3 separate regions of the Homo sapiens genome follow, and regions 1 and 2 are each linked to region 3. The links are contacts of gene promoters, found by promoter capture Hi-C in blood cells and fetal thymus (Javierre and others, 2016). All regions are on one chromosome and are shown on one strand. Each heading gives the region's core, a stretch centred on a gene start or on the middle of the fragment in contact. The rest is flanking DNA. Distances are from core to core; before and after follow the strand shown. Region 1 has its middle 180 kb from the start of LINC01195. Region 2 has its middle 200 kb from the start of LINC01195. Region 3 holds the start of GRIN2A (glutamate ionotropic receptor NMDA type subunit 2A).

Region 1 (2,700 bases), core at 192-2,691, 540 kb before region 3:
CCGAGGAGATGGTGTTAAACCATTCATGAGAAATACACACTCTCACAATCCAATCACCTCTGACCGGGCCCCACATTCAACACTGGGGATTACGATTTAACATGAGATTTGGTGGGGACACAGATTCAAACCATATTAGTCCTCATCTCTCAAATAGAGACGATGACACCTACCTCGGTGCAGGGGAAGCCCTTAGGACAGAGTAGGGGTTTGATTAATAAAAATATTCTTTCTGGTACCAGCTCAATGACCTGCCATTAATCCAGTTTCTGTTCTGGAGGCGGATGAGGGGAGGAGAGATGACTCCCTCAGCCACTGGTCTGGTCTGGAATCTCTCTCTTCAAAGCATTGTCCCCATCCCACCAGCATCATTTGTGAGCTTTTTGGAAATGCAGAATCTCGGACCCCACGCCAGATCTATACTGAGTCAGAAGCTCAGGTCCTTAGGTGATTCACACACAGGTTAAAATTGAGAAGCAGGCCAGGCGCGGTGGCTCACGCCCGTAATCCCAACACTTTGGGAAGCCGAGGTGGGTGGATCACGAGGTCAGGAGTTCGAGACAAGCCTGGCCAATATGGTGAAACCCCATCTCTACTAAAAATACTAAAATTAGCCAGGTATGGTGGCGCATGCCTGTAATCCCAGCTACTTGGGAGGCTGAGGCAGGAGAATCGCTTGAATCCGGGAGGCAGAGGTTGCAGTGAGCCGAGGTCACGCCACTGCACTCCAGCCTGGGTGACAGAGCAAGACGCTGTCTCAAAAAATAAATAAATAAAAATAAATATAAAATTGAGATGTACCAGTATAAATATGGAGTGACTCAATTGTCCCCTTCTGCCACCTGCCTCCCCAGCGCAGACAGTATCTCTGGAACTAAATAATCTGCCCTGACCCTTTTGCCATGCTTCTCAAGTCTATATAATCCTTCCTAATGTCATTTTCACCAGTAGACAAGAGGGGGAAACATTTTCTTAGAAAGACAAGTTTTAGTCTTGACATTTAACCTCTGTAGTTTGTAACCTGTCAGTCAGGAGAACACTGAAGGTCATCTACCTGATCTTCATGCAGTTCAGGCTTCCCTGACTGCTCTTAAGAAGGTCATCAGGTCCAGCTCTGACTCTATGCAGCAGAGAAGCAAAACCATTGTGATGGGTCATTAACAAGAATCAGGCAGACAGTGTGGGTGGAAAATCATGGTCCAGAATGTCAAATGTCTCTTAGGCCTACCAGGAGAGATGCTCAATTAATTCTGTGCTTTAGCACCCCCCTGAAAAGTTCTGCACATAAGAGCAACTCACTTTATCGGCTCTTGGAGCTCACCTCTTTGTTACTGGCTTTAGCCTCAGCACCCTAAAATCTGAGGCCACTCCATCCAAACAAACCAAGAACATCCCGCTCTGGGTCAAAGGCTTTCAGCTGTGTTCATGCATTTGGAAGAAGGAGAACTTCTAGCCCCTGTAAAAAGAGTCTGCATCATTTTACACCGTGGCTTCCATCCCACTATTCACCAGGGCTGCTCAGCGTTCTCAAACACAGTTAATACCACAAAGTCCATTAGTATCTCAGCCTGCTACCTTCTGCTTCCCAGACTGTGGTCTGCAATCCCGACCTAGCCTCAGTGACAGCAGCCGCTGATGGAGCCCTTTAGGAGACAGTAACACCATTTCGTGTTCCTGTCCATGGGATTCTTATCAGTCTGGATGAATGGCTGAACAATTTTCTAGGCTCTTCGGTCTATTGCTCAGACACCTGGGAGTCCCATCCCCATGTCTTTTGCAATGCCTCATTTCTGGTAATTTATAACACATTCACTGTTAAATATCCGTCACAGAATGTCAGCCAGGCCTGTGCCTGGGATCTGTGTAACAGTGTTTCATTCTGTCCACCTTTTTAGGCACAGAAATAGCCCTGCTGACCCAGAAGAAGCAGTCATATGGTTTGCATCTGGTTCTTGGGAGATGCTGGTATCAGAGAATGATGCTCCAATAACCACCATCGACTAGTTATATATCACAACTTTCTTTTTTTTTTTTTTTTTTCCGAGATGGAATCTTGCTCTGTCACCCAGGCTGGAGTGCAGTGGTGTGATCTCAGCTCACTGCAACCTCCATCTCCCGGGTTCAAGCAATTCTCCTGCACCAGCCTCCTGAGCAGCAGGGATTACAGGCACATGCCACCATGCCCAGCTAATTTTTGTATGTTTAGTAGAGATGGCGTTTCACCATGTTGGCCAGGCTGGTCTTGAACTCTTGGCCTCAAATGATCTGTCTGCCTCAGCCTTTCAAAGTGCTGGGATTACAGGTGTGAGCCACTGCACTCGGCCTCATATATCACAAATTTTGATATGATGTATTTTCATTTTATTCAGTGTAATGTTTTAAAATGTTCCTTGACACTTTCTATTTGAACTTTGAATTACTTAGAAATGGGTTGCTTACTTTTCAATTGTTTGGAGATTTTCCTGTTATTGATTTCTAGTTTGATTTCATTGTGATTGAAAAACACAACTGTAAGAATTAATTCTTGTTCAGTTACTTGAGGGGTTGTTTTAGAACCCAAGACATGGTCTTCTTAGAATATGTTCCATAGCACTGGAAAAAATGTGTATTCTGTTGTTGGTGGTGGAACTTTCTATTAATGGTGATTAGATCTGATGGGTTGAGGGTGTTGTTGTGTTCCTCTATATCTTTGCACAGCTT
Region 2 (2,700 bases), core at 92-2,591, 530 kb before region 3:
AATTTGTTCTCCTTGCAGAAACCAAGTGCTGCCTTTCATTTATTTTCTCACCCTCAATTTAGAATTCGAGATGGTCAGCTCCTTCTGCAGGGCTAACTGTGGCTCTTCCGTGCTTTGTTTATCCAATGAATATTGATTTAGTGCCTCCTCCTAGTGCAGGGGACCTAGTAGTGAACTAAAGAAAGTCTCTGTCCTCTTGCAGCTTACATTCTAGTGACAGAGAAAATGAAATAAGGTCAGGTAGTGTAAAATGTTTGAAGGATATACAAAGCAAAATTAATTAATAATTGTTGGACATCTATTAGGCATCAGGGCTGTGGAGTCTGGGGACGCAGCTGCACACACAGAAATGGCATTGCAAGCTGGACTAATGCTGTAATGCAAAGTAATGAGTAATCTCTGGAAGAGCAAAGCTATCACAGAACTAAGCATGCTGATTAATGCTAGAAAGGACATGCTGATCAATGCTAGTATGGGTATGCTGGTCAATGTTGGTATGGGCATGCTGATCAATGACAGTATGGGCATGCTGATCAAAGCTAATATAAGTATGCTGATCAATGCTAGCATGGGCATGCTGATCAATGCTAGTATGGGGGTTCTTATCAATGCTAGTATAAGCCTGCCGATCAATGCTAGTACGGACGTGCTTACCAATACTAGTATGGGTGTGCTGATCAATGCTAGTATAAACCTGCTGATGAACGCTAGTATGAGCATGCTAAACAATGCTAATATGGGCATGCCAGTCAATGCTAGCATAGGTGTGCTGATCAATAAGCAAAGAGAACACATGCTGAAGTCAAGGGCTTTAACAATAACTTTTGTAAATACTACCCTTTAATGCCCTGTTAAGTTTACTACCTTCATCCTAACCCAAGACGTAAATTTTCAAGGAGAAGGAGAAGGAGAGGAAGGAAGGAGAAGAGGAGGCAGAGGAGAAGGAGGCAGTTGGAATAAATATACAGGAACAGAACTTACTTTGATCTTTCTAAAAGGTTAACGTTGGATTTTAATTTCTACTCTAAGCAGGAAATAGAAGTAGAGTTTGCCTAAAATAATTTGAGAATATTTCATCTTCATTTAATCAGGAAATTCCTCCAGAACTGTCTTCACCTAAAAGTTTGGTTAAGTATAAGTAAAAAGAAAAGCATGCAGATTCCAACAGGGAAGAGGAAATCCAAAGCTTGGGCCTGGAGGGGGCTTCTCAATTTTCTTGGAAGACTCCCCAGTGATCACCTGTACCTCCTCCCTCCAGGAAGCTCTGCCGTAACAATAATTGTCCTCTCTTAGCCAGGTGGAGGGACAAAGGGGCTTTAGCAAAACATCACCTCCGAGGGTGGTCAGTCCTGTTGGACATTTTAATCAGCACATGGGAAAGCAGCTCCAATATTTCCCTGCCCTGGTACTGATAGCTGAAGCATCCTTCCCCCCAACCCTCTTTCTACCCCCTGGCAACTACAAATTGCTCCTGCCCCAGGAGACAGTGAGCTGTGGAAAGCTTCAAAGTCAGAAAAATGTGGGCTTGGTCACCTCCTCTGTCAATTGCCAGTGGTGTGTCTTTGGGCAGTAAGCTGAACTTCTCTGATGTTGTTTCCCCTTCTATAGTCTGCCTATAGGGATTAAACACCAGCATGGATGTCAATCATCTGGCCCATACTAAGTGTTCAATGAATGATCTCCAGGGCCTTTTTTACTTACCTCAGATAATAAAAGCCCACTTAAAGCCTGTGGGTCCTGAAAGCCGAGAGGAATTCACAGCTTGGCCAACGATGGAAAGATAATCAGAATGGAAAGAAGAGAGATGTATAATTGGGAAATTTCAGTCCCCCTCTGTTTCTCTGGCTGTCTGTGTCCATTCACAAAAGCCATTTTAGCCCGTATTCACTTATGCGCATATGTAAAATGAGGACTTGAACAAGTCTCTTCTTCCCTGAGCCAGCCATCTGAAGCTCACTGGTGCCATAGGGCTAACCTTGAAGTTCGATTAAAACAGTGACCTTCAGAGCAGTACTTCTCAGCTTGCAGGGGAGATTTTTCACATGTATCATTTCATTTGATGATCACATTTTTTTTCTGAATTTTTATTTTCCAGATGATCCAGAACTGAGATCCAGAGCCACAAAGGGCTTGTGCCAGACCTAAGTGAGATGCAGAGTCGGCCTTAAACCCAATTCTCATGATCAGTGGTGATTGTGGTGATGATGATGATGATGGTGATTCTGGGGATGATGATGATAATGGATTTTTCTTCACAGTGTCTAGCAGTATTCCTGGCACATAATATGCATGGACCTATGCTGGAACTAAATGATTTAATATCCATAAAGGGTCCTATGAGGCAAGCTCCAGAGACACAGAGGAAGGCCATACAGCAATAGCATGAAACACAGCTTTGAGGTCCTGGGGCCAGGGAAGGGCACAAGGTGTGGCTGAGGGGATGCTCATGTGTGCTTCCCTGCTCTTTCCTCAGGAAGGTTTCCCTGTTTGGAGCAGCCGCCACATGCCATGGCTTCTTTCTCTGCCTTTTGCTTTGATTAATTGCACCTTTCATGATTCATATCGCATAATTGCCTTCCAAATGGGTTATTCCTGGGTGGTAACCTTATGGGGGTAGGTTTGTGGGTCTCTGGAGCATCTTAAGTATGATGTTGCAGTCATAACTAAATGAGGCATGATCTCTTGATGGCACAAGACATG
Region 3 (2,700 bases), core at 85-2,584:
GGGCCCAGGCTCCGCTGTGCCTGGGGAACTTGGGGCTCGCCCCACCTCGAGCCAAGGGGCCGTGGAGAGTCCTTCACCCCTACACGCGCGCGTGCACACACACGTGCACACACACACGCACACACACATGTTCACACACACACACCCTCTCTCACGCGCGCCGTGTGCAATGCTGAATTCTGGAGAGTAGGCGCGTCCCCCCGCGGGCCAGCGCGTAGGAGCTGGCAAAGAACGTGCGTAGGGGGAAAGGTAGGCTCCCAAGAAGCTCCCAGACGGACGTGGACTGTACAGCCCCTCCCTAGCCTTTCTACTGCGGGCGCTGTTGCCAAGTCCTAGGTGCACGTGGGCAGTGGGCCGCACACGCTCATAGGCACGCGCGCTTTTCTGCGCACTTCCTCAGACTGCTGTAGCGGTGCCCACGGCCAGCCGGAGTCCTCACATGTCCTCAGGTGGTGCACACGCATGAACTGCGGCAGGTGCACAGCCCTGCGTACCTGCAAATACCAGCACGGTCGTGCACGCGTGCCCTGACGCGCGCCTCTCGGGACGGACGCTGCTGGAGCCGGGGGAAGTTGAGGCGAACTCCAAGAGGCCTCGACGTTCCTGGGTAAGCGCCGCGGAGCGCGGAGCCGCAGCGCCCCCTGGTGCCCCTCCTGCACTTCGCCGCTGGGCTCCCTCCCGCTTTCCCTCTCCCTCTCTAGCCTGATCCCTCTCCCGCTCTCCCTCCGGTCGAGTCTCCCTCCTCCCCGGCCCAAGGAGCCCTGATCTCCCTCTGGGACGTACCTGTAGCCCGAGAAGGTCGAGGATGCAGTGGGGCGCGCTGCGCGCACGAGCATCTCGGCCGCCTCAGCAGCCACCGGGTTTAGCGGGTTCCCGCATGCTGCGGCCCCAGCGCGCTCCCCTGGCTGTCCCGCGCTGTCCGCATCGCCCCCACGGGGGGCGGCTATCCCAGCCGGAGGCTCTGCAGCAGGGCTCTAACGGGGCGGAGGAGAGAAGGAGAGGCAGGGTCAGCCCACCAACGAGGGGAGGGAGGGTTGAGGGGAAGGCTGCAGTCTGCAGTGCTCACAAGCCCCCCTATGCGCCCAGGGGGGCTAGACAAGAGGGGGGAAGCTGAAGCCCGATGCCCACGACGCCCCCAGTGCGGATCCTCAGCCCCTGTGGCTGATAGCGGGAGCTCCACTCCAGGGTGCACAGGAGAATGGGAGCCCCAGGTTGGCCACCCACGAGAAGCTAACTGGGCACCTCCACCCGCACCCCCTACCACCTCCCCAGCGCCGGCTGCTGGGAGTTGTGCGACCGGGAGCTGCTGAGCGAGGGAGGTAGGGAGAGAAAGAGGAGGTAACGAGGGTGGGGGGGCGCTGGCTGAGTTTGTGACGAGCCAGCAGTAGGAGAGGGGGAGGGAAGGACGCGGGCTCCCGCGGTCCCGGTTCCCCGAGGGAGGTGGATCTTTCCCACGCAGCGACCCTCTTGTGATCCTGCCGCTTCCTCCCTCTTCAGGCCTCCCACCTCCCCCCTTCCCAAGGGGGCCTCCCAGGCCCGGCGTCCCGCGCTAGCACTCACCGCAGCCTCTCTCCACATAGTTCTCAGCAGTGGCCGCTCCTGGTCATCTCCAGGGCTGATGGCTGCGGCCGCGATTCTCAGCGCTCACCCGGTCCCATGATCCGGCCAAGCCCTAGGAGCTCCCCTCCAAGATCCCTAGCTCCGCTTCCTGCCCCACTCCGGACGGCAACTGCCCGGTCCTCTGAGCGCGCCGGAGCACCCTCTCCGCAACCCAGCTCCGGGCTGGTGTGTTTGAGGGCGAGTGTGTGTGTGAGTGTGGGAGCGCGCTCGCGTGTGGCCGGGGATCCCCGCGGTCCCCGGCCGAGAGAGGCGCGGGCGGGGAAAGGCAGCTCCCTCCGGGCCCTTCGCTGCTGGGCCAGCTCCGCGCCGGGCGTTCGGCTCCCCACTTCCCAGCGGGAGTCCGGTGAGCGCCTGGACACCCTGGTTCACAGCACTGGCAAAGCCGGGTTCCCGGGGCGTCTTTCTGCTGCGGTCGCCTCCGAGGAAGAGGAGAAGGAAGGTAGCGGCGCCCTCCACACCAACTTAGGGACTTGTTCTCAGCCGGCGAGACGCAGTAGCCCCCGCTCAAGCCCAAGAGGCTTCGAGCTCCGGCGGGCGAAAGCGTCTCCTGCCCGCAGCCTCTCTCCTAGGTGGGTCGAGACAGACCCCGCAGTCCCTCGGCGGCGACGCGGAGCGCGGCCACCCGTTCCGAGAGCGCACGGCGGCAAATAAGGCCAGGATAGGTGGCTGGCTGGCGACGGGGGCGCCTGCGGCGGCGCGCGCTGCTGTCCGTGGTGTTGGAACCACGCTCTCCGCCCGCTCCCGGGCGTCTGGTGCGGCTGAAGAATCAATTATTCAGATCTCTGCTACCGCTTCCTCCTCCCCCAGTGCCTCGCGCTGGGTACAGTTATCCCCCTCCACGCACAGGCGCGCCGACACACACACACACACACACACACACACACACACACACACAGAGTCTGCTCCAATGCTTCTCCCTGTGCCTCGCCACCCCCGTACGGGAACCCACTCCTCTGATCTCAGGGAGCCAGAATCCTAAAAGCAAAGACATCTGCATTTCCCACATGCTTCCTTCTAAGTTCTACCAAACAGAAGCCTCCCTGAGGCTGCCACTTCTAAGCTACCAGAAGAGGTGAGCCA

What was found. Contacts are between HindIII fragments. The CHiCAGO score rates a contact against its expected background, and 5 or more counts as called.
Region 1: a contact is called between a fragment that was not itself captured here and the fragment with the promoter of GRIN2A in region 3, in 2 of 17 cell types (endothelial precursors and M1 macrophages). The highest score is 5.7, in endothelial precursors.
Region 2: a fragment that was not itself captured here is called in contact with the fragment with the promoter of GRIN2A in region 3 in 1 of 17 cell types (endothelial precursors); the score reaches 5.2 in endothelial precursors.

Annotation. Positions count from the first base shown.
Region 1 is chr16:9,636,798-9,639,497 of GRCh38, forward strand. No RefSeq gene overlaps it. Among named protein-coding and RNA genes, the nearest start is that of LINC01195, 180 kb to the left of the region's middle. The HindIII fragment of the contact is 3,105 bases long and covers 1-2,700 here.
Region 2 is chr16:9,653,356-9,656,055 of GRCh38, forward strand. No RefSeq gene overlaps it. Among named protein-coding and RNA genes, the nearest start is that of LINC01195, 200 kb to the left of the region's middle. The HindIII fragment of the contact is 315 bases long and covers 1,185-1,499 here.
Region 3 is chr16:10,181,094-10,183,793 of GRCh38, forward strand. It overlaps GRIN2A (glutamate ionotropic receptor NMDA type subunit 2A), which reads right to left and starts at 1,335. Exons shown (of 13, transcript NM_001134407.3): 1 at 784-1,335. RefSeq lists silencers at 423-532, 543-602. The HindIII fragment of the contact is 14,826 bases long and covers 1-2,700 here.